Linked DNA regions of Homo sapiens: regions 1, 2 and 4 are each linked to region 3. Evidence: promoter capture Hi-C in human tissues and cell types (Jung and others, 2019). All regions are on one chromosome and are shown on one strand. Each heading gives the region's core, a stretch centred on a gene start or on the middle of the fragment in contact. The rest is flanking DNA. Distances are from core to core; before and after follow the strand shown.

Region 1 (6,141 bases), core at 412-2,911, 130 kb after region 3:
GGAGGACTCAGCCCACATTTAGTATCTTCTTGACCAGGGAAACCAGGCAGGCTCATGGGGCTGATGGGAACTTCCCCCAAGGCTTCCCAGGATTTTCCTAGCAGCTCCCCAGTGTTGACTTCCAGGCACCTGCCACTGAGCTACTGGGGAGAAGGCACCACAGAGGTCTTCTTTTTGAGATGCTCATAGAAGCCCAGGCTGCATGAGCACCCAGATAGATGCTCAGAGTCTCAGCAGCTGATTGGTGCAGAAAAGGTACATGTGGGAATGAAGGAAATGGATCTGGGCTCAGGTTACCATATTCCCAGAATTCTCCCTAAAAGATGGTGTTTGCTGTGCATTGTAAATTTATTATTTCTTCCTGGCCTCCCATCTCTGGCATCAAGTATTCTCCCACTTCAAATACTCAAATACACCAGTCATATTGCATCAGGGCCCACCCTAATGCCTCATATGAGGCACTTACTTTTGAAAAGATCCCATTTCCAAATAAGGTCACATTCTGAGGTACTGGGGTTAGGAGTGCAACAGATATTTTTTGAGGAGCACAATTCAACGATTACACCCTCTGTGATCATTTTAGTTGTGAATACTTTTACCAGTGACTTCCTCTTTTAAGATTTTTGGTGTTTTTTTTTACCATAAAAATTATATATTTTTACATGGTTAAATGAGTCAAATTGTTTCTTTTGGACGTCTGAGAATGAAAACACTTTCGATTCCAAGGTTTTAGGATTACTATTCTATATCTTATTGAAATAATTTTATTGATGTTTCATGTTTAAATGTTTAGTCCATTTGGAAATTAATCTATGTATGGTACAGAGTGTCTGTTGACTTAAGCACAAACATGTCTTTCTTAAGGACAAACATTAGTTCTTGCCACAGCAAGGAAGAAAATGTCTCCTAACTGACTCTTAATTAGGAAGAACACACTTCCTCCCATGGAATCAGTAAATCACACTATTATCCAAAGTGGTATTTAGTTCTTTGTTCTTTTTCTGCTTCCCTTTCAGGCTTAGCAGGGTAAGAAAGCAGCCACAAACCTGCTATAAACACCTCTCCCTTAGCAACACAATTAGAGCCTTAGAAATGCACAGTCTAGAAAAGACTGGATTAAATTATTTGCCAAGAACAGTTACTCTCTCTCCTCAATCTCCATCTGGGTGAAAAGAAGGGTGTTACCCATTCTTACATACATGCACATACACACATGTCACACACGTATGTTATATGTATGTATATAGAAAATATTGAATTAAAAAACACTCTAAAACCTAGTTTTCTGTACTTTCTTATTTTCTAGAAATGGACAATTAATATAATGACAATTTTGTCTCTTTTCTTTCCAATGTTTTTAAGCTTTTTTTTTTGTCCTATTGCATTGTCTAGAAGTTTATGAACAACTTTGATTGATAGTTATAGGTTTACAGCACTTCACCTGCAATTCCTAAATGCCAAAAAACTCTGAAATCTAAGGTCTGTGGCAAACTCTTTGGGTAATAAAATCTGGCCTGAACCAATGAGGACTATTTATACTCTTCAAGTATACAACTTGGGGCAAGAGCATTTGGTGACCTAGGCAGTAATGTGCTCGATTATGGACTGTCCTCCCGGTCCTCATTGGGGTTGTTTTCCAAGGTATAATATATGTATGACATTATCTTTGAGAAATCTGAAAAAAAAAACCTGATTGTGAGATTTAATTGATCCCAAGGATTTTAAAGGGTTTCTGGGATCTTAGATCATGAATAATGCATATGTTTGTCTCTAGTGTTTAATCATTCAACTTGTCGTAAGTTGTTGGCTTGTGACAGATACTTTTTAAATTAAAGGGGTTTTCCATGCCATGAATATTTATTGATTTATTTACTTTTTCTACTACTTCTTGGTCATTTATATTTTCTATGAAAAGTATCAACTGTATTTAGACTTTGAAATGTTTTGGGACTTCTGGTTTTTGGTGTGAAATATAAGGAGATTGGTCTTCACTCCCATCCTTGTAATAAGAAGAAAGCAAAACCAAACTGAAAATTAACAACTCTTCTTAGATCCATAAAGAACTGAGACCACAGGGCAAACAACGGCCTCCACAACCCCCATTCTGGTTCCAGAGTCACCAAACTCTTTTCCTTTGTGCATTTGAGAATGTGATAAGAATCCATCTTGGAGAGTCTTGGAGAAACCTGCTGTTCTTAACATAAGTTAACCCCAATCTAGCTAAATTCTGTTTTCCCTAATGTACTTTGAAAAGTTTGATTAGGTCCATAGAGAGTTTTTCTTTTTCAAAACATGATAGATAAATACTGATATACAATATAATACCACTTAAATACTTTCCACATATGTATAAGGCTTATCTGTGCATTTAAAACAAAGTTGTGGGATATTTTGTGGACCAAACTTGAAATGCTGGCTACGGTGGAACTGGAGATGGGGATGGGAAGGAAGCCTGGGGGACTGTGTGTGATGATGGGGCCCTCCCCTTTATAGAGATACATGTCATACACACACACACACACACACACACACACACACACACATAATTGTAGTAAAAAATACATAGCACAAAATGTACCATTTTAACCATTTTTAAGTGTATAGTGCTGAGGTGTCACATCTATTCACATTATTGTGAAACAAATCTCTCTGGAGCTTTTTCAAGTTGCAAGTCTATGCCCATTAAACAGCAGCTCCCCTTCTCTCCTTCCCTTCTTCCCTTGGTCACCACCGTTCTACTTTCTGTTGCTATGAATCCAGCTACTTTAGATAGCTCTTACAGCAGGATCATACAGTACAAATACTCCTCGACTTACAATGGAATTATGTTGATAAACCTGTGGTTAGTCAAAAATACATTTAATACACCTAACCTATTGAACATCATAGCTTGGACTAGCCTATCTTAAACGTGCTCAGAACACTTACATTAGCCCACAGTTGGGCAAAATTGACTGGCAAACAAGTGTGGAAGCTGTGACTCGTAGCTACTGCCCAGCGTTGAAAGAGACCATGGTACTGAATATCCTTAGCCTGGGAAAGATCCAAATCTAAATTTCAAATATGGTTTTTACTAAATGGATATTGCTTTCGCACCATTGTAAAGTGGAAAAATTGTAAGTCAAAACATCATAAATCAGTGATGACCTGTACTCCTCTTTTTTCTGACTGGCTTGTTTCGCTTAGCATAATATCCTTAAAGTTCATTTATGTTGTTGCACAAGACAAAATTTTCTTCCTTTTTAAGGCTAAATCATATTCCCTTGTAGGCACATACCACATTTTGTTTATTTATTCATCCATAAAGGGACATTTGTGTTGCTTTCACCTATCAGCTGTTGTGAATAATGTTGCTATGAACATGGGTGTGCAAATATCTCTTTGGGGGACTGCTTCCAGTTCATTTGGGCATTTAAACAGAAGTGGAATTGCTGCATCATATGGTAATTCTATTTTTAATTTTTTGAGGAACTGTTGTATTGTTTTCCACAATGGCTGCACCATTTTATATTCCTACTAACACTGCACATGAGGTCCTCCACATCGTTTCCAATTTGTTCTTTTTTTTCTTTTTTCTTTAAATAGTAGTCATTGTAATGAGTATGAGGTGATAGCTCAATGTGATTTTTATTTGAATTTCTCTGATGATTAGAGATGTTGCCATCTTTTCATTTGTTTCTTGGCCATTGGTAAATAATGTTAGGAGAAATATCTATTCAAGTCTTTTGATCATTTTTAAACCTGGTTGATTTCTTGTTGTTGAGTTATAACAGTTCTTTTGTAAATTCTGGCTATTAACCCCTTATCAGATATATGATTTGCCTGTTCACTCTGTTGATCTTATCCTTCGATAAACATTTGCAAAGTTTAACACAGTCCCATTTGCCTATTTTTGCTTTTGTTGCCTGTACTTGTGGTGTCATTATCCAAGAAATCATGCCAAGTACAATGTCATGAAGATTTTCCCCTGTAGTTTACTCTAGTTTTATAGTTTTAGGTATTACATCTTTAATCCATTTTACCTTAATTTTTGTATATGCTATAAGGGTCCAAATTTATTATTTTGCAGGTGGATATCCAGTTTTTTTCCTTAATGTGATTTCTTGAAAATACTTTCCCTTCTCCATTGAATGATCTTAGTACCCTTGCTGAAGTTCATTTGACCATACACGAGTGTTCATTTGGGGTCCTCTCTTCTATTCCATTGGTCTATTTGTCTGTTTTTATGTTGATAACACACAGTTTTGATTACTGGAGCTTTGCAGTATGTTTTAACATCAGGAATATCAGGGCTTGTGAGTCCAGCTTTGTTCTTCTTTTAAAATATTGTTTCAGCTATTTGGAATCTCTTGAGATTTCACATTAATTTTAGAATGACTTTTTCTATTTCTGCAAACAATGCCTTTGGGATTTTGATAAGGGTTGCATTGAATCTGTAGATCACTTTGGGTAGTACAGATATCTTAACAATATTGTCTTCCAACTTAAGAACACAAACTATCTTTCTATGTATTTAGTCTTCCTTAATTTCTTCCAGCAATATTTTACAGTTTTTAGTGTACAAGTCTTTCTCCTTCTTTAGAGTAGATTTATTACTAAATATGTCATTCTTTCAATGCTGTTGTAAATAGGATTTTTTTTAATTTCCTTTTTCAAGTTGTTCACTATTGCTGTATAGAAATGCAAGATTTTTGTTTGCTGATTTAAAATCCTGCAACCTTGCTGAATTTGTCTATTAATTCTAATAGTTTTTCTGTGTGTGAAAGCTTCTGGGTTTTCTACATAAAAAAACATGCCATCCGTGAGCAGAGATAATTTTATTTCTTCCTTTTCAATTGGATGCCCTTTATATATTTTTACTATCCAATTGCTCTGGCCAGGACTTCCAATGCCATATTTAATAGAAGTAGTGAGAGGGGAGATCCTTGCCTCATTCCTGATCTTAGAGGGAAAGCTTTCAGTTTTTCACTGTTGAGTATGATGTTAGCTATGGGCTTGTATAAACTGCCTTTAGTATGTTGAGGTGATTTACTTCTATTCCTATATTGTGGAGTGTTTTTATCATGAAGGGATGTTGACTCTTGTTAAACGTTTTTTCTGCAACAATTGAAATGATCATGTGGCTTTTGTTCTTCATTCTGTTAATGTGTTATAACTTTGATTCGTTTTCATAAGTTAAATCATCCTTGCATTCTAGGAATAAATTCCACTTTATTTAGGTCATGGTGTATAATCTTAATGTGCTTTGAATATTGTTTGCCAGTATTTTGCTGAGGATTTTGGCATCTACATTCATCAAGGACATTGGTCAGCAGTTTTCTTTTCTTTTTTTTTATATTTTTTATTTTTTTTTATTATTATACTTTAAGTTTTAGGGTACATGTGCACAATGTGCAGGTTAGTTACATATGTATACATGTGCCATGCTGGTGTGCTGCCCCATTAACTCGTCATTTAGCATTAGGTATATCTCCTAATGCTATCCCTCCCCCCTCCCCCCACCCCACAACAGTCCCCAGAGTGTGATGTTCCCCTTCCTGTGTCTATGTGTTCTCATTGTTCAATTCCCACCTATGAGTGAGAATATGCGGTGTTTGGTTTTTTGTTCTTGTGATAGTTTACTGAGAATGATGATTTCCAATTTCATCCATGTCCCTACAAAGGACATGAACTCATCATTTTTTATGGCTGCATAGTATTCCATGGTGTATATGTGCCACATTTTCTTAATCCAGTCTATCATTGTTGGACATTTGGGTTGGTTCCAAGTCTTTGCTATTGTGAATAGAGCCGCAATAAACATACGTGTGCATGTGTCTTTATAGCAGCATGATTTATAGTCCTTTGGGTATATACCCAGTAATGGGATGGCTGGGTAAAATGGTATTTCTAGTTCTAGATCCCTGAGGAATCGCCACACAATGGTTGAACTAGTTTACAGTCCCACCAATGTGTAAAAGTGTTCCTATTTCTCCACATCCTCTCCAGCACCTGTTGTTTCCTGACTTTTTAATGATTGCCATTCTAACTGGTGTGAGATGGTATCTCATTGTGGTTTTGATTTGCATTTCTCTGATGGCCAGTGATGGTGAGCATTTTTTCCTGCGCTACCTGACTTCAAACTATACTACAAGGCTAGAG
Region 2 (5,818 bases), core at 2,176-4,675, 150 kb after region 3:
GCTTGGTATGGATAGTCTCCAAAGACAGTCACCATCAATTTCTTTCCTCCCTGTATGTGCTGGATGATTCTTACACCAAGTACTGGAATCTTGCCTTTGTCTTACTAACAAAGTCTGGACTAACCTTAGTGACTTGCTTAACCAATGGATTGTGATGGAAGTAACATTCTAGGACTTCTGAGGCTGGGCTTGTAAGATGCCTGGATCTCTTGATAATGTTCCCTCCTGGAATTTAGCTGTCAGGCTGTGAGAATCCCAAGCCATGTGGAGATGCCATATGTGAGTGCTCCAGTGAAGAGCCCCCACTGAGGCTCCAGGTGACAGTCAGAATCCACTGCTCACTGTGCGACTCGGCCATTTTGGACATCCGGCCCAGCTGAGCCTTCAGGTGGTGTGCAGCCGCAGCCAGAAACTGACTACCACACATAAGAAACCTAAGAAAGAACTACCGCACCCAGTCCACAGGGCCATTACATCATAATGAACCATTATTTTAAGCCACTCTGTGTTGGGATGGTGTTTTTGTTTTGTTTTGTTTTTTTGTTTTATTTTGTTTTTTGTGAGACAGAGTCTTGCTTACAGGCTGGAGTGCAGTGGCGCGATCTTGGCTCACTGCAAGCTCCACTTCCTGGGTTCACGCCTTCTCCTGCCTCAGCCTCCCGAGTAGCTGGGACTACAGGCGCCTGCCACCATGCCTGGCTAATTTTTTTTTGCATTTTTAGTAGAGACGGGGTTTCACCGTGTTAGCCAGGATGGTCTCGATCTACTGACCTCGTGATCTGCCCACCTCGGCCTCCCAAAGTGCTGGGATTACAGTGGGATGGTTTTAAAAGCAGTAACAGATACCCAGAGAGCTTCTGCTTAGAAGGCACACATCACTTCCCTGCTCAGAATCCAGCACTGAACTCCCAATTTATTGGTCAAGAAGTGATGTCCACAGGGCAGAAAAATATGGGCATTCCTCAAAGACGTAGCAAGTATTTAGGGATAATAGTAAGAGAATAAAGTGGCTGGATATAAAATAAACACAGTGATAAGTTGCATTTATATATACTTGCAACAACCCTTTACAAAATAAAGTGAACAAAGATCTCTTTTACAATCACAATAAAAATAAAATATCTAGAAACAACATTAGTGCCTTGGATACATCTAGTTCCTAGTACAATCCCCCAGGGAGGCTGTGAGAAGTTTTGTAATGAGCTTGTTAACAGAGATTGTATATTGGGAAATTTCCAGCAAATTTGCAAATTGGCATACTACTTCTGCCAAATGACTAAAAATGTTCTGTTGAACTGCTAAAACTTTCCTGTGTATGTGCTGAGGTTGTGATAAAATGGCAAAGTAGGATGGCTGGTCTGATTGGACTCCAATTGAAACATTCTCTCAAGTATGTGCTAAAGCAAAAAGCATGAAGTCAGCTGCAAGTGAACAAGTTGTCAGGCTTGTGCCTCAGCTTCCATGAAAGGAGCTGGCAGAGGCAGCCCTGCTGACCTCTGAGCTTTGCACGACCTGGGTGTCCAGCATAGATCTGGGTATGACCTCCAGGAGGAGGCAGGCAGCCTTCAGGGCTGCAAGCTTCTGTTAGAAGCTTAGCAAGCGTCTCTGACCATCACTTCCTCTGGAAATGTATTCTTTAATAAACCATTGCATTCATGAGTGAAATTGAATAAACATCCCAGGATTCTCAATCTTTGGGAAAAAGCTCATTCTAAAGTCACAAATTGTCTCACTAGAGAAAAATGCCACTGTATGCAGTACACACAAATGATTACATACTGCTTCTAATGGTTACTGACTCTGTGACCCTTGTCCCCAAGCCCCAAGTTGAGAAAAGCTTGTATTTTAGAGGTTTGAATGACAAGGGGAGGGAAAGGATAGGGAGATGAGACAATCCCTCCCCAAGATGAACCCTTCCCGCAGGTGTGTCCATCTCCTAGGTGCAGCCACCTCCCAGGTGTACCTTTCTCCCAGGTATACCCTTTCCCCAGGTATACCCACTCCCCAGGTGTACCTTTCCCCTAGGTACACCCTTTCCCTAGGTGTACCTTTTCTAGGTGCACCTTTTCCACAGGTACTCCCTTCCCCCAGGTGCACCCACATCCCAGGAACACCCTTTCTCCAAGTGTACCCACTCCCTAGGTACACCCTCTCCCCAGGTGCACCCACTCCTCAGGTATACCCTTCCACCAGGTGCACCCTCTCCCCAGGTGTACCCTTCCCCCAAGTGCACCATTTCCCCAAGTATACCCACTCCTTAGGTGCACCCTTCCCCCAGGTGCACCCTCTTCCTAGAGGCACCCACTCCCCAGGTGCACCCCCTCCCCAGGTGTACTCTTCCCCCAGCTGTGCCCTCTCCACAGATGTACCGTCTCCCCAAGTGCACCTACTCCCCAGGTGAACCTTCTCCCAGGTGTACCAACTTGCCATGTGTACCCTTCCCCCAGGTGCTCCCTCTCCCCAGTTGCACCCTTTCCTGAGGTACACTCACTCCCCAGGTACACCATTCCCCCAGTTGTACTTTTCATCCAGGTGTGCCCTTCCCACCAGATGCTCCTCCCCCTGGTGTGCCCTTCCCCTGGGTGTACTTGACTCACTTTCCTTCAGTAGGTTTCCGCTCAGTTATCACTCTATCATGAAGCTTCCCTCACCACTCTGTTTAAAATGCAACCTCCCTCAACTCTCCCTCTCCTCTCCCCTACTTTATTTTTCTCCATTTCATATAGCTGATAATTCCCATCTTTATTATGCTTATTGTCTGTTCCCAGTCAGGTAAGTCCTATGTGGTGTTTTTTTGAAATTTTGTTCTTTGCTATATCTCAGTGTCTGGGACAGTGTCCAACATATCCTAGGTGCTCAGTACACATTTATCAAGAGAATGAATGGATTGGACACATCCATCTCCCTTCCCTGACTCTGAACTTCTGGAGCACAGGGACCCTGCCTTTTTCATCCAGGCCAATACATAGCAAGTGCTTGTTTAAATGTTGGTTGAACTCAGTGGCCCACCCATTACAACATAAAGACACCAATACTTTCAGGAAGCTTCAGCGAAAAACCCTTATAGAAAAAACTCTCCCAGGTGTATGCCCTCTGCACCAATTGCAAAGCTCTCGACCTCATTAAAAAGCATTTCATTAGAAGGTGACTGATATGGTTTGGATTTGTGTCCCCGCCCAAATCTCACCTCAAATTGTAATCCCCAATGTTGGAGGAAAGGCCTGGTGCGGGGTGATTGGATCGTGTGGCCAGATCCCCACTGTTGCTCTTGGTATAGTGAGTTCTCATATCTGGTTGTTTAAAAGTGTGTGTCACCTCCCGCCTCTCTCTCCTCTTCTTCCTTCTCTGGCCATGTAAGATGTGCCTGCTTTCCCTTTGCCTTCCACCATGATTGAAAGTTTCCTGAGGCCCTCCCAGCTATGCTTCCTGTGGAACCATGAGCCAATTAAAACTTCTTTTCTTATAAGTTACCCAGTCTCAGGTAGTTCTTTATACAATGCGAGAACAGACTAATACAGTGACCTCATTGGGATTTATGCAATCTTATCAGAAATGAAATTTCACAAGTCCACAGTATCAGTGCCATGGGGAACCTAAGAATCCCGGAAGTCAAGGGCAGCTCTTTGCCTGTCCTGAGCCCTCAGCACAGGGAATCAGTGCTGTAATTGAACTCACTGGAGTAACCCTATAAATGGAGAGATGGCCGCGTGTGAGTCTAAGCAGAACTGGACTTGGCAGGGAGGACCCAGGCAGCCCAGGGACACGGTGCCCATGTTCCCGTTTCCTGTAGAACTTTGCAAGCATGATACCCATCTCTAGCATGAGCCATCAGGGCCCCAGCATGGACCTGAAATCAGAGCCTGCAACCCCCGTGTCTCCCTCCTTCTCTTTCTCAGCCTACATCCCTGCTTCCTTAGCCATCAGGCCCTGCTAGGGAGGCTGTCCCAGCCCTACCTGGCCTGACCTTTGGGGCCTGAGAGGGTAAGTCCAGCCTAGGTGTGTGTGTGGGGGGGTGGGGTAGACAACAGCCAACTGCCTTAGGAGCAGGTTCCCTACACACAGACCCCTGCTCCCTGAATGTGGCAGAGGGATATCCAAGGACGTGTATGTGTTTGCCTGTTCATTAGCTCACTAAGCCCTGCCTTCTGCAGACACCCTGGTGGTGCTAGGTGTACAAGGATGAGACAATGGACCTCCCCTTCTGCACCTGAAGTGGGCCTGCTGCACACATCCAACAAGAGTGGAAATACCAAACACATTAATAAGTGCTTCCAAATAATACGCTTGCACAGCTATTGCCCAATGAGTAATTTCTGATATGCTCTGCGGAGTGTTTGTCAGGACAGATGAAGATTTATTCCTTGTGCCAGCCCCCTTCTCTGCATTTTCCCTTTCTCCCCAACCCTCCAATCTCCCAGTACGGATGTAGTAAAATATTGATAAATTTTACAATCTATTATACATTAGTAGTCTATTAAGACTATGTACCACACTGCAAACGCAATAGTAGTATATGGTGGGGTTTTTTCCTAGTCCAACTTTTTGTTTCGCTTAGAGTTAGTGATGACCTCATTTTAAAATTTGCTTCATTTTGGTGCACTGATCTTTATTTATTTTTTCAAAATGCTGCATTAGACCTGTCAAGTACATGGCCATATCCTTTATAAGGTGCCTCATCTTGCAGACTCTGTCAACCCCACTGTGCCCCAGCACCTCTGCCTTGCTGCACAGGACCTCTGGCTGCCCAGCCTGCAGGCATCCTGAGACTGACTGTAGCCCGTGTCCTGTACCAGTACCCGCCCCCACGGCTCCTGCATCCAGATCTTGCTGTTCCTTTGTTTGTTCTGTTTTTTTTTTCTTTTTTTTTTTTTTCTGGATTGCGTGCTCCAGTGGCTTCTAAAAAAGAGTTTTGAGGAAGGGGGCATATTTTCAGTCCTTCTTTGAGTTAACAAGTGCTCCTGTTTCATTGTCTCATGTTTCATTGGGAATAAAATATTTAAAAGTGGGTTCCTGTCTTCCTTTCAAGTGCAGCACCACCTTTTTCCAAGATGCTGTTGTTATTTGCATCCTAGTTTCCTTGTCCAAGAGCTGTGTGGATGTGGTTGTCAGCATCTCTCCTTTCCCTTTCTCATGAATGTCTGCTTCGCAACTCATCCTTAGTGGGCATGAGGCCAGTCTTTGCCATCTGGGTGTCCTGGCCCTTCAAGTCTGAAATGGAACTGGCTGAACTTCCCACCTGCTGTGGTGGAGTCTGGGGCCGTAGCTAAGAAGGCACAACACTGTGATTGTCTGAGAATGTCTGCAATTGTCTGTGATTGAACGCTGTGATTGTCTGAGAGTGTCTCAGTTCAGTGGTCAGTCTATTCCCTACATGTCTAATAAATGAAAAAAGTTTCATACAGTAACTGGAAGTCAACTAGAATATATGCGACTTCACTTATTGTTCAATGTTGGGTTGATTCATGGGTGGATTTTCTAAACCTTTCATCTTTTATGGGTTGATTTTCTAAACCTTTTATCTTTTATGTTATTTTCCATTTATTCATCATTTTAATCTAATTTTTGGAAGGTGTTTCTAACTTTATATTTCAAACCTATTGAATGTCATTATTTCACTTATCTAATTATCTTCTTAGAATCTTTCTTGTTTTCAAATTATTTTTTTATTGAGACCAAAGAAGCTACATAAAATGTTACAAGCCTAAATTTGAACTGAAAGTTTCAATATCAATTTCATTTTGTTTTTGTTTTTAGAGACAGAATCTCACTCTGTCACCCAGGTTCAAACTCCTGGGCTCAAGCCGTACTCTTGCTTCAG
Region 3 (5,911 bases), core at 2,182-4,681:
CTTCTGGATCCTCCGGGCAGGGGTATACCTGGGGCTTTGCCAATGCTCAGAGCCAGGGGCAGAGGCTCTCAGGGCAGAGGCTCTCAGGACTCAGCCCTTCTCTGTGTCTTCTTGGACCACCAGGTCCCCAGGTCCCTGGGCTGATGTTCCTCAAAGCTAGGTGTGCTCAGGGCTGGGGGGCTGGGGGTGGGGACAACACTGGTCATGAGAGAGGAGTGGGCCCTCATCTGAGTCGCCTGGTGTCAGAACAGACCTGACCTCTTGTCTACACAGCACCAGGGGTCTGCTTGGTGGGGAAACGGTCCAGCCCAGCCTGAGGAACCTCCTGCAGCATGTTTTTCCTGGCCCCTGGGCACCAGCAGCCCTTCTGCCTGCCTATTCCCTAGCCTCCAGCTCAAAACCACTTCCTGAGCCCAGAATGGGTAGGATCTCTTCAGCACCCCAGCCCTTAGAGGAAGAGGTGGTGAGAAGGTAAGGGACTCTGGCCAGAGACCCTTGAAGCATGGCTGGGGACAGGGGAGCTGAGAGTAGGGGGAATTGTTGCTTCCCACCTGGGAAGGGTGAGGAGAAGTCAGTCACTGTGGGAGGTCACAGGGCTTGATGGCCACAGTGGGCCCTTTGTGCACAGACCATTGAGCCACTGAATGGGGCCCTCAAAATGCTTCCTGGAAGAGGGCAGGCTGGGCTCAGACCCCCGGGCAGGCATGAGCTAGTGGGGAGGCTGGAAGTCTCAGGTATGTGTGTGGAACAGGGGATGAGGACAAGATTGGTGGCTACAGTACTGTGGAAGAGAGCACCAGACCTTGAAGAGCTTCTCCAAAGATCCCATATCCATTGGCAGCTTTACTGGGGCAAGAAGAAAATCTCATTTCCTCAACATGTTTCAGAAGTGTTCTAGGTTCTGGGGATACAGCAGTGAATAAAAAAATACAAGTCCATGCTCTTAAGGAGCTTGTCTCCTGATAGGAGAGACAGGCAAGAAACAAATCAATAAATAATATAAAGATCAGGATCATGAAGCAAAATAAACAGAGGCCAGGAAACTGAGGGCAGCAGATGTGCTGTTTTAGACGGGATGGGTGAGGAAGGTGTCTGGGATAAGGTGGCATCTGAGCAGAGACCTGAGTATGCGATGGAGCAATCCATGCAGCTGTTTAGGGGGAAACAAGAGACAATAGAAGAACGTTTCCCTGAACGAAGAAAGACTTGAGTTTCCAGATTAAAAGGATACACCAAGCATAGAGTAGTAACAATGAAAACAGAAGGAGGCTAGAGTCAGACATATCCTGGTAAAATGTGTGAAATTCAAGCATGGAGAAAGATCACTCCAAAAAGGCACCAGGCCCAAATGGTTTTATAGGCAAGGTCATACAATATTTAACCAATATAATTTATATCCTTCCAAGGCCCTTTTCTATACTTGATTATGTAGAAGTAGGGAAGGAATTGCTTTGGAAGAAAAGAAACTTAGAGATTTTCACTGCTATGAAGATAAATCTTTACTGTTTTTGGTCATCTGTTTTGAAGAGCACCACCTGACTTTGTTCTCTCCTTTCTGCCAAGGAATCTCAATGATAGATTCTCCCCACTATATTGAGGGAGCTTTTCTCCTTAGATATGGTTTGGGGTAAATGCTGTACCTAGCTGTAGGGCATTAAAGATTGTGGTGAAAACTTGGGCTTTACTTACTCTGAGTGAGTTGGGAGCTGCTGGAAGCTTCTGAACCCAGAAGGGACCTGATCTGACTCAGGTTTTAACAGGACCATCTTGGCTGTTCTCCAGTTTCTAGCCAGTGGGGCCTCCTCCCTGTGTGCTGAAGGTGCTAACGATGTGTCTTTGCTTCCAAGCTTTTTCTGACCTTTTGCTGCAGCTTTCACCAAGGAGATGGGAGGCACTAGACTGAGAGTATGTGAGGAGTGAAGACCGAGGGCGGGCAGGGCAGATGGAGAAGTGCTGTGGCTATGCCCAATCCAGACCTGCACTGAGACAAAATGAGGAATACAGGCCTCTATCTCTTCTCTTATGAAAATGGACAAATTCCACTGTTCTGCCCAGGCTAGCCAGGGCTGCTGTAATGCCAGAGTGGTCATTCCAACTTCTGTGAACTAGAAAGCCTCTCACCATCCTCAACACAAATGTCCTTAAAGCCCTCTGGCAACGCATTGGTTTGGCTCCTAGTGGCAGCAGCAGCTGAATCCCTGGCACTGACCTGGTGCACAGTGTCCCCAGATCCCTGGTCAAGCAAGCCTAGACCTATAGCATTCCAGAGAGCCTGGAAAGGGTATGGTTAAAAATTCCTGTTCTAGCAATGTCTTCAAGAAGAAGCAGGAGAAAATGCTCCCCACCTCCCAGTGCCAGGAGGGGAGAGGAAGGAAGCTCAGTAGGACAGCTCTGCACAGGTGGCCTGGGGGTGTCTGCAAGATGACCTGGCTCTACCTCTCTACCTGCTCCTTCCCAGCTGTGGGGCTGGGGAGGGCTGGTGCCCTCTCTGAGTCGGTTTCTTCATCTGTAAAGTGCTTGGCTGAGGATCCAGCTGGAGTGTGGATTAAAGGGCACAGCAGGGTGCCTAGCACCGTCAGCCCACGTGTTTTTCTTGGGCAAGCCACTCTGAGCCTTACTCTTCCTGTCTCTAAGCGGGAACCCAAATGCGAGCCAGGATTGCTGCGGACTAAAGCAGTCTACGAACGCTTTTGTAGACTGCGAAGCATTGTTTGGTCTTCAGAAAGGTGCCCCAGAGACAAGGTGTCATTGGTTTCAGGTGGGGGGGGGGGGGGCCGGTCAGCAAACCTCCTTAGTCCTGGAGGGCAGGGTGGCAGCGCAGAGCGCGCGCAATTTCCGGAGGGTAACTGATTGTCCTGCTGAAAGCCCAATACCGTATTTATCCAAAAATACGTCCTTCTAGGCAAGTGATTTATCTGACACTCAGCGGGGGACAGAGCTGCTTGTACCGCGCTGGGGATGAAGGTGGGGACGTGGGCCAGACCGGGCCAGACAGGCTCCCCAGCGCTTCCCGCTCAATCACGCAGACTGCACTTTGGGGCGATCTCAGAGCTTTTCTTAAGTCTTCAGGCCAGTCTCACGTTCTCACCTTGGGAACCGAGCTTTAGAAGCCGGCCCTCGTGGACGCCGCGAGACAGCGGCGAGAGGTGGGAAGCAAGGAGGTGGCTGCGGGCCAGGGACCAGGCAGCGTGTTGGGGGGCGTGCGCGTCTGGCAGCTCCGGGATCCCCGAGCATCCGCCGCTCAAGTCCGGGAGCCGCGCGGGCGGGCCGGGGCGGGGCCAGGGCGGGGCCAGGGCGGGGCGGGACGTGTGACGCGCAGCGCGGGCCAATGGGGCGCGCGCCCGGGGCCGAGCCTCCTGCGAGCCTTCGCGGCGCCCGCTGCGTCACGTGAGCGGCGGGGAGTGAGTGCCCAGCGAGCTGCGGGCGGGCTAGTGCTCCGCCGCAGCGACCCGCGGGCCGGCGGGCGATCGAGCCAGCGCAGGACCCGCGGCTCGGCCCCCGGCCGCCGCCGGACCGAGAGTCTAGCCGCCGCCCCCAGCCCAGCCCGCCCGGCCGCAGGACCGCCGGGGCCTGGCCGCCGGTCCGGCGTGCGCCAAGTTCAGGTGGGAGAGGCGCGGCGGGGCCGGCCGGCCGCGTGGACGCGGCCCCGGGTGATCAGAGGGCTGGCCGGCCTCGGGGCGCGTGGCCGTGCTCCCGCGCAGCTCTCGGAGGCACCGCGCGAGTGCTGGAGGAATGTCGGAGGAGCGGGATGGGCCCCCGCGGAGGTGGGCAGGGGTCGGACTGGCCCGGGGGAGGTGACCCCCCCCGCCCCGGTCGCCCACCAGCACTTTGCTGAGGCCCGCGCCGCCGCCTCGGTGCCTGGCCGGGCGATTCCGTGGCGCGCCTTGCGGGCCGGCCCTCCCATATGGTGGGCACCGGCGCGGCCTGGTGAGAGGAGGGGGAGAGCGGACGCGCTGGCCAGCCCGGGGTTGGGGGGCGGAGGGGCTGGAGACGGAGGGGTTACTGTCGGTCACCGCAGCAGTGTCGGGGGCAAGGGGGGGGCGTGGGACGAGGGCATGGTGCCCAGCGGGCAGCGGTCCAGGACTCTAGAAGGGGTCTGAGCCGGCTCTCTTCATTTCCCACGCACGTTTCCCCTCACCCGCCGGCACCCACGGCGGCTCCACGCGCGAGTCCTTCGCGGACAGCCTCCCGCACAGCCACAGCGGCTGCCGCGCACCACGCCCCGCACACGCAGTCACACGACAGGAACTCACACCCCTTCACGCACACCCGCACCGTTCACGCGTCTCACTCCACGCTGAGTCCCCGTCCGCTCAGACCGAACATTACCAAAGCCATGGCCTGACCGAGGGATGGCGGCGGCGGGGCAGAGAGGCCGTCCCCATCCCATATGGTGGTCCGGTTCACTCTTCCCTCCCCGCCTTGGTGTTACTCATGGAACCCCCCTCTCACGGAGGGCACAGAGGGGCTGTTTTCTCCCACGGCCCTCGGAGGTGACAAAATCAACAATTGTTTGAGAGCCTCAAATCTCCTTCCCCCTGTCCCCCCGGACCAGGTGGCCCCTGGGGAGACCCTGCCGCCCTACAGGTGTGAGGACGCCCGGACTCTGCGACTTTGGGGCCTGCGGGCGGCTCAGGGACCGGAGACTCTTATTTTGAAGGACAGCCCCCGCCGCCACCCCCGTGATTTGCACGCTGACCCAATGGCAAGCCCTTGGCCGGCGCTGGGCTTGTTATCAATTACATGTTGTTCCTGCAGCCGCTGTGTCCCCGGGAGGATAAACAGCAGGCCTGGCCGGGCCAGGGGAGGGGGCGGAGTCCGGCGGCCAGCCGGGGACTGTGCCCGGAACAGCGTGTCCCCTCCCCCTGCACGCAGCCTGCGCCTCTGGCCGCCCCACGTGCTGCTGTGTTTCAGGGGCCGAGCCAGCTCCAGCCCTAGAGTGTCCTCTCTTTAATGCCGGTGCCCTGGGACATCCCAGAGCCCTTTCTGGGTTGTCAGTGCCTGGGTGCTTCCCCCTTGGGACGTTCAGCCCAGCATTAAGACCCTGTTGGCTGACCTGGGCCACCCATTCCTACTCTCCGACCTCCCCCGCTCTCCCCCGCACCTTCCATTCACTCATTCAGCAAATTTTGCCCGGTCCTGTTTTAGACTCTGGGATATGGCCTTGGAGTGAACAGTCAGGACAGCTGATATTCTGATGGGAAGGTAGACAGGGAGGAAAGTTCACAAACACATCACCAAGATAGTTTCCCACAGTAGAAACTGCAGGGAAGAGTATAATATAGGATGATGTAACAGAGTGGGCCTGGAGGCCCCCACAGGGGTGACTTCTGAGCCGAGATCTAACTAAGCAGCTCCCACCTGCAGTGCTGGGGGAAGAGCCAGGGCAGTGGCCCCGGGCTGAGGCTGAAGTGAAGTGAGCACACCTGGACTAGAAGAGAGGCAGTTGGTGGTGAGGTCTGCAGAGAGTCCCAAGGGCCCAGGTGCTGGGCTGCTGCGAGGAGATAGGGCCACCTGTCCTTGGGAAGCCATTGGAGGGTGTTTCCTTCCAGCCCCCCTACTGTACTTTTTAGATCACTTTATCTGTCAATATCTGTTTATATGTTTAAAAGGTAAGGCCTCCTTTAACCACAATATGATCATCACAATTAAAAATATTAACAGTAATTACTTAATATCATGGGATGGCCAGTTAGTGATCACGTTTCAGGGGAGGGCTCTAAGGCCTGCTCTGGGTCCCAGGAGGGCTGGAGGCCCCTGATTCCTTAACATCACAGTAGAGGGGCAGAGGCCGAACGTTTGCCGTGCCTGCAGGCTGACACCAATGGCTGGCACTGGCTGAGTGCTGCCGGTGTGCCAGATCCTGAGGGGGGTGCTTAGTGAGCGTCAGCTCACGGAATTCTCACAACAC
Region 4 (6,033 bases), core at 3,134-5,633, 180 kb after region 3:
TCAGGTGGGCTCTGGTGTGTGGCACAGAGCTCTGTTAAGTCTCATCCCTACCTTCGCCTCTACATGAAAAATTGCATGCAGGCCCTTTAAAGGGGGAAATATGGAGAAAACCATTTTGAATTCTTGGTTCCCACTGGGGAGAGGTTCTAAGGGGTGGGGATCAGGTGACATCATGAGTAACTCACGAGGCAGGGTAGAAGCATCTGAACGAGGCATCCTAGGAGATAAAGAGAAACACTGGCTCCAAAATTAAAACAAAACAAAACAAAACAAAAACAAGCCCAGGTCACTTGGCCTCCCCGCTTTGATTTCCCACAGGCTATGACCTTCAAGTTAATGTTTCCTTTGCAGCGTACACACAGTCCCAGTTACTGATTCCCCAAAAACAAGCTGAATCATCATTATACAACAGAAAGAGAACCCATGTCTATCCCATCCCCCATTCACAGAGCCCTGAGCCAGGCTTGTCTCCTAATCTGCCTCTGGATTGGAGCAGTAGCCCCCATTGTTCTACCCAGACTTGGGCTGTGTAAGTGCACACTGCTTTCCCTGGGAGGACTTAGCCACCAGGGCCCTGCGGAAAGCCCGGGCAGAGGCTCTCTCTGCAGGGCTTATCCAGCCACTGTCACTGCAGGTGCCTCTCCTGGATCAGGGCCTGTGCAGGGCTGTGGGATACACAGATGAAACAGGCCCTGTCCCTGCCCTCAGAGGTGTTGCAGTTGATAAAGAGACAGACACACATATAAATAGTTGCATTAGAGTGTGGTCTGTGCTGTGAGTGAGGGAATTCCCAAGGAGAAGGTTGGGGTCAGGCTTCCCAAAGGAGATGATGCACAAGCCCATCCCTGGGGCACAGGCAGGGCTCAGCTGGTGGCTTCAAGAAGCAGGGCATTCCCGGCACAGTGAACTGAACTGGCAAAAGAGGGTTTCAGTGGGACTCGTTCAGAGAGTATCATATAGTCCTGGGACAGGGACAAGCTGGCTTCTGCCACTGTCTGACCTCAAGCCTCAGCTTCTCTCTCTGGTCTATGAAAGGATGGATTCGGAAATCACACAGTTACTTCCACCATCTTTCATGTGTTAAAAGGAAGTCACTACGTTCAGCCTACATTCAAAGGCAGGGGAATTAAGTGCCACTCCTTGAATGGAAGAGCATCAGAGAGTTTTAAAATGACCACAGTCCACCTACTGGCCACAAACTACTTACATCCTTCCACATGCAAAATACATTCGCCCTCCAAACATCCCCTCAAAGCCTCATCCCACTGTAGAATCAGCTCAATATCCAGAATCTCTGCATCTAAATCAGGCTTTGATGTGGGTGAAGCACCTGGGGTATTATTCCCTCAAGTGTAGCTCCTTGAGTAGAGTTGCTCTCAATCTACAGACTTAGGAATTCCAGAGACAAATTAACTGCGCCTCCCCCCTGCACCCACCTGACATAAACTGGTGGGATAGGCATTGGATAACCACTGTAGACGTGCCTGCTCCAAAGGGAACAAGGACAGGAGGCATGCAGGAGTAACTAGTGTACGGCAATTCTAAAATCTTCCTGGGCGGGTCCTGAAAGTCTCTTGAATAGGACTCAGTCTGACTCTGGCCCCAGAGTGATTCTCCACGCTCTTGGCTCCACCCTTTGGGTTCTTTGTTCTATTCCCCAAGTCATCCCTTCTTTTCCATGAAATGCAGCCCAGGTTCATATCCGTATAGTTTCTCAGCTTGCTTCCTCCCAGAATTTGGGGGAGTCTAGAGGTCTCTTTTCATTTTATATTGTCTCTGACCCTTTCAGTCCAAGTCTACACTGTTTTGCTCATATAATTCTTTTAAAAATGTTGCATGTCTCCTGTAGATCTCACTGAGGTTCATGCCTTTAGACAACTGTCAAACCCACACATCTCTTTGAGAAAAGCCCTTCTCTCTCTTGGGCTTCTGCTGAGACTGCTGTCAAGGACAACTGTAAGCTTCTTAGAAATCCTACTATTTAACAAAATATTCTGAGGTGTCCCTTTGTTCTCTTTGAAGATTTTACAAAAGATCTCATGACCACACTCTTGGCTTCATCTTTAGGCCATCTTCCTTGCACTGGCCTGCATTTGCTCTTTGCCTGGAAGCCATTTGTTAGTTTTAGCATCATATGACATCTGGAGAAGCTGGACATTTTCACAGCCCAAGTTATGGTTCCTTTTTATTTAACAATCCTTCCTTTGGCTTATGTCCCTTCTCTCACATTTTAGTATAAGCAGCAAGAAGAAGCCAGGAGGAGGCACCTTCAACAATCTCCTTAATGAGATCCCCCAGTTCATCTGGTACATTTTCTACTTTCCACATGATTTCGGAACACTTTCTGCTTAAAATTCCCTCCTCTCCTGCTCCATACCTCTAAGAGTATGGATTCCTCTCTGATTTCCTAATACATCTTTTTGGGGTGTCTAACCTCCAAGCCATTGTTCAGTGGTTCCTGTCGCCCATCTGCCTTCTCAATTTTAACTCCCAAGTTCAGAACACACCACTTTCCCATTGCAGGCCCCTAACACTCAGCCAGTTTTCCTACAGATTATATGGCACACCTTCCACACACAGGGCATGCATTCAGCCCTGGGGACTTCCCAGGAGAATAAGCTAGTCTTCGCCATCATTGTCCAGAGACATGTTAATCAAGCAATCCCAGAAGCAGTGATAAAATTGCAGTTGAAGGCAGGGTGCAGTGGCTCATGCCTGTAATCTCAGCACTTTGGGAGGCTGAGGTAGGTGGATCATCTGACGTCAGGAGTTTGAGACCAGCCTGGCCAACATGGTGAAACCCCGGTGAAACGTCTACTAAAAATACAAAAATTAGCTGGGTGTGGTGGCGCATGCCTGTAATCCCAGCTACTCAGGAGGCTAAGGCAGGAGAATCGCTTGAACCTAGGAGGTGGAGGGTCCATTGAGCTGAGATTGCACCATTGGACTCTAGCCTGGGTGACAGAGTGAGACTCTACCTCAAAAAAAAATAAATAAATAAAGTTGAGAGAGGTTCATGAAGAAAAATTACAGGCCTCTCTGTGATCACATAATGGAGGAATCTGTCCTAGTAAGGCTGAGGCTAGGGAAAGCTTCCCTGAAGTCATGGCATTTTAGTAGGAACTTCCTGAAGAATGATGGGGGTTCTCTGGACAAAGATGAACGGCACATGGAAACTTTATGAGTCGAGAAGTTCCACAGATATGAGGGACAGCAGGGAGACCTGCAGGCTGGAGCCTAAAGAACAAGGGGACAGTGCCTGAAAGTAGGCTAAGTGGATCAGCAGGCACAGGCCACCTCAATCCTGGGTGCCCATACTGGCTTATGTGAGCAAAATACATGCATTAAGCCATTCAACAAACATTTATTTAGCAACTGCTACAAGCCATCACTGTGTATTGGGGATACAACAGTGAATACATCTCACAAATTTCCTGTCCTCAAAGAGCTTACAGTCTAGTGGGAGAGACAGACAATGAACAAACAAAGAAACAAGGAAATATCAGATATACAGTTAAGTGCTGTGAAGGAAATAGAACAGGGTGATGTGGCAGGGAGTGGCTGAGGGACTTCCTTAGTTTGTGTGACCTGGAACAGCCTCTCTAAGGCTCTGCATCAGATATCTGATATGTGATACCATATGGGAGCAGGCTCTGAAAGAACACTACAAGTAGAGAGGTAAAGGCAGGGGCTGCAGCAAGCCTGATGTGTTCAGGCACTGAGCAGAGAGAGGGCCAGGTGGTCGGGACTTAGCGAGAGGGTCGCCTCAAAAGAAGTGAGGCTTAGCAGGGCACGGAGCAGTGCGGCCGCAGGTGTGGTGGGAAGGGTGTTCCAGGAGAAGGAGCCACCTGGACACAGGCTTGCAGTCATGAAACAATACGCAATTATCACTCCCGGCATTCTACATGGCCTTGCCTGAGACCGGGCTGGCCAGGATCTCTGGGAACCAGGAGGAGGGGTCTGCGGCACCAGGACTGAGTAGAAGGGAGAGAGTGGAGAAGGGGAATTGCAGAGAGAAAACCAGGGGCTGTTTTTCTCTCGGAGAGGCGGGTAGGCACTGGGCGGGCAGAAGCGCCGCTATCCACCCGGATGCGCAGCTGCTAAGGGGCCGCCTCTGCAAGCGGCTGCAAATTCCCGGAGGGCAGCGTCTCCTTTCGCTCTGCTGTGTCCGTAGCACATGGCAGGTACTTGGCCCATCAAGAGTGAGAGAGGGTGAGCGAGTGAGTGAGTCACCGGCTTGGCGAGGGTCTCCTCTGACCCACTTAGCCTTGCCAGCGCTCAGAACTGCCAGCCCTGCTGGGTGCTTGGGACTTTTCAAAGCCCTGGGAATTCTCCAAGGGTCCACAGTAAGTCTTCTTGACCTAAGCGGGAAAGAGCGCAGGCCCCTGCGGGGTTGGCTTTTACATGGCATTTATAGACCCGCCCGGAGAGGGTGCGCTGCGCTCCCGCCATAGTCCCACCACCGGTGAGCGCCGCCCCCACTCGGCTGACTCTCCGCCCGCCCCGCGCCCCTCCCCTCACGGGCTCTGGCCTTAACCAGAGCTCGCGGACTGGCGGGGACAGGTCCCACCTCCTGGCTCCCAGGACGGGTCTGCACCAACCTCAGTTTCGGGGCTGCGGCTCACAGAAGTCTAACCTGCCCGGGACGCCCGCACCAACTCCTGCGCGCGGTGAGTTTCTGGGCTCTCGAGAGCGCTGGACTCCCGGCGGAAAGGAGGCTGCCCCGGCTGCAGCTCCGGGGGCTCCGGGGGCTCCAGGGGCTCCAGGACTCGGTTCTCACCGCAAGGGCTCCTGCGGGGCCCATCAACTTCGCCGCTGGGACGCCGGGCTCGGGGTACGGGTCCGGAGTTCTTTGGAGCAATTGAGGCTGAACCTGGCCAGGGGTCATCAGGCTAAATGACCGCAGCGCCAGGACTGGCCCGCCGAGGATCTGGCCGGCCGCGGTGGTAGGGCCCTTACGGAGCTGGCGCCAACCTGTGGGGTGGGCACTGCTGGCCCGGCTTATGGAAGAGAAAACTGAGGCTCGATAAGAGAAAGGGACCAGCGAAGGCGACGCGATGATTTGTGACTGGGGACTACCTGTTTCCTGGGCCCCTCGACCCCATTCTGTGACAGGGAAAGGTCTTCCCTGATTGGCCAAATCTGGGGGCCTGGCACGAGGGCCTCTTGTGATTGGAGGGGTCGACGTGAGCGCTCAGGGGCTGCGCTGGAGTCCCAGCTCCAGCCACTGCGCTCAAGTGGACGGTCGCGCGTGCAGAGGGAGGCCGGATAGCAGACCCCACAACGTGGCTCCTGGGGCCCCGCTATCGAGAGCTCAGGCCCCGCGGGCACTTGCCTAGGAGAGGAAAGAATCTTCCCAAAGTGCAGACAGAGACGGAATTTAATCAGGAGTCCCAGACTTGGAGTTTGGAGGCATGGGCTCTGGTGTCAGGTGACTTTGTTTCCTCCCCACGCCTCCACTTCTCCTTGACCTTGGGCAAGTTTCTTGTGTTCTGAATCTTAGTTTCTTGTCTCTAAAATCGGGAGGGGCAATGAACAGTAGTGCCTGCCTCCCAAGATTGCTTGAGAATTACATGAGACTGCCCCGCGCCTGGCCCTAGGAAACCCTCGGAGAATGTTGGCTGCTGTTTGTTTGTTTGTTTGTTTGAGACAGAGTCTCGCTCTGTCGCCCAGGCTGGAGTGCAGTGGCACGATCTCGGCTCACTGCAACCTCCGCCTCCCGGGTTCAAGTGATTCTCCCGCCTCAGCCTCCCGAGTGCTAGAACTGCATTCATGGGCCCCAGGGCCCTAGCACCAGAACAGAGGGCCCAGAGCTGCAGTCCTGCAGGGTGGCCCAGCCTCACAGGGACTAGAAGCTGGGTCCTGGAGAGCCAAGCCTGGGCTGGGAATTGGGTAGGAGGGTTGGGAGGCCCAGGAAGCCTCCCAGTGTCCCCACACCACCAAGTGAAAGGACACTGAGCGGCCATGACTGGGGGAGGAGGTGGAGGCCTGGAGGCGGCCCATACGGCCCACAAGGGGCTCTATGGGCTTCAC

Evidence for each region. Contacts are between HindIII fragments. The study calls those that stand out against the background at their distance.
Region 1: a contact is called between a fragment that was not itself captured here and the fragment with the promoter of KLF15 in region 3, in 1 of the 25 tissues and cell types used here (IMR-90 fibroblasts).
Region 2: a contact is called between a fragment that was not itself captured here and the fragment with the promoter of KLF15 in region 3, in 1 of the 25 tissues and cell types used here (aorta).
Region 4: a contact is called between a fragment that was not itself captured here and the fragment with the promoter of KLF15 in region 3, in 1 of the 25 tissues and cell types used here (H1 embryonic stem cells).

What each region holds. Positions count from the first base shown.
Region 1 is chr3:126,221,527-126,227,667 of GRCh38, reverse strand. All of the region lies in intron 1 of LOC124909426 (a long non-coding RNA gene), which reads right to left. Among named protein-coding and RNA genes, the nearest start is that of ALDH1L1, 44 kb to the right of the region's middle. The HindIII fragment of the contact is 6,398 bases long and covers 1-4,860 here.
Region 2 is chr3:126,201,851-126,207,668 of GRCh38, reverse strand. The region is part of intron 1 of ALDH1L1-AS2 (ALDH1L1 antisense RNA 2); the gene reads right to left. Among named protein-coding and RNA genes, the nearest start is that of ALDH1L1, 24 kb to the right of the region's middle. The HindIII fragment of the contact is 3,422 bases long and covers 1,715-5,136 here.
Region 3 is chr3:126,354,928-126,360,838 of GRCh38, reverse strand. It overlaps KLF15 (KLF transcription factor 15), which reads left to right and starts at 3,431. Exons shown (of 3, transcript NM_014079.4): 1 at 3,431-3,602. RefSeq lists a silencer at 3,252-3,471 and enhancers at 3,370-4,129, 4,130-4,889. The HindIII fragment of the contact is 9,710 bases long and covers 1-5,911 here.
Region 4 is chr3:126,179,113-126,185,145 of GRCh38, reverse strand. ALDH1L1 (aldehyde dehydrogenase 1 family member L1) reads left to right here and starts at 4,560. Exons shown (of 23, transcript NM_012190.4): 1 at 4,560-4,670. ALDH1L1-AS2 (ALDH1L1 antisense RNA 2) reads right to left here and starts at 5,081. Exons shown (of 2, transcript NR_046383.1): 1 at 4,602-5,081. RefSeq lists enhancers at 246-540, 3,391-4,144, 4,145-4,900. The HindIII fragment of the contact is 3,712 bases long and covers 2,528-6,033 here.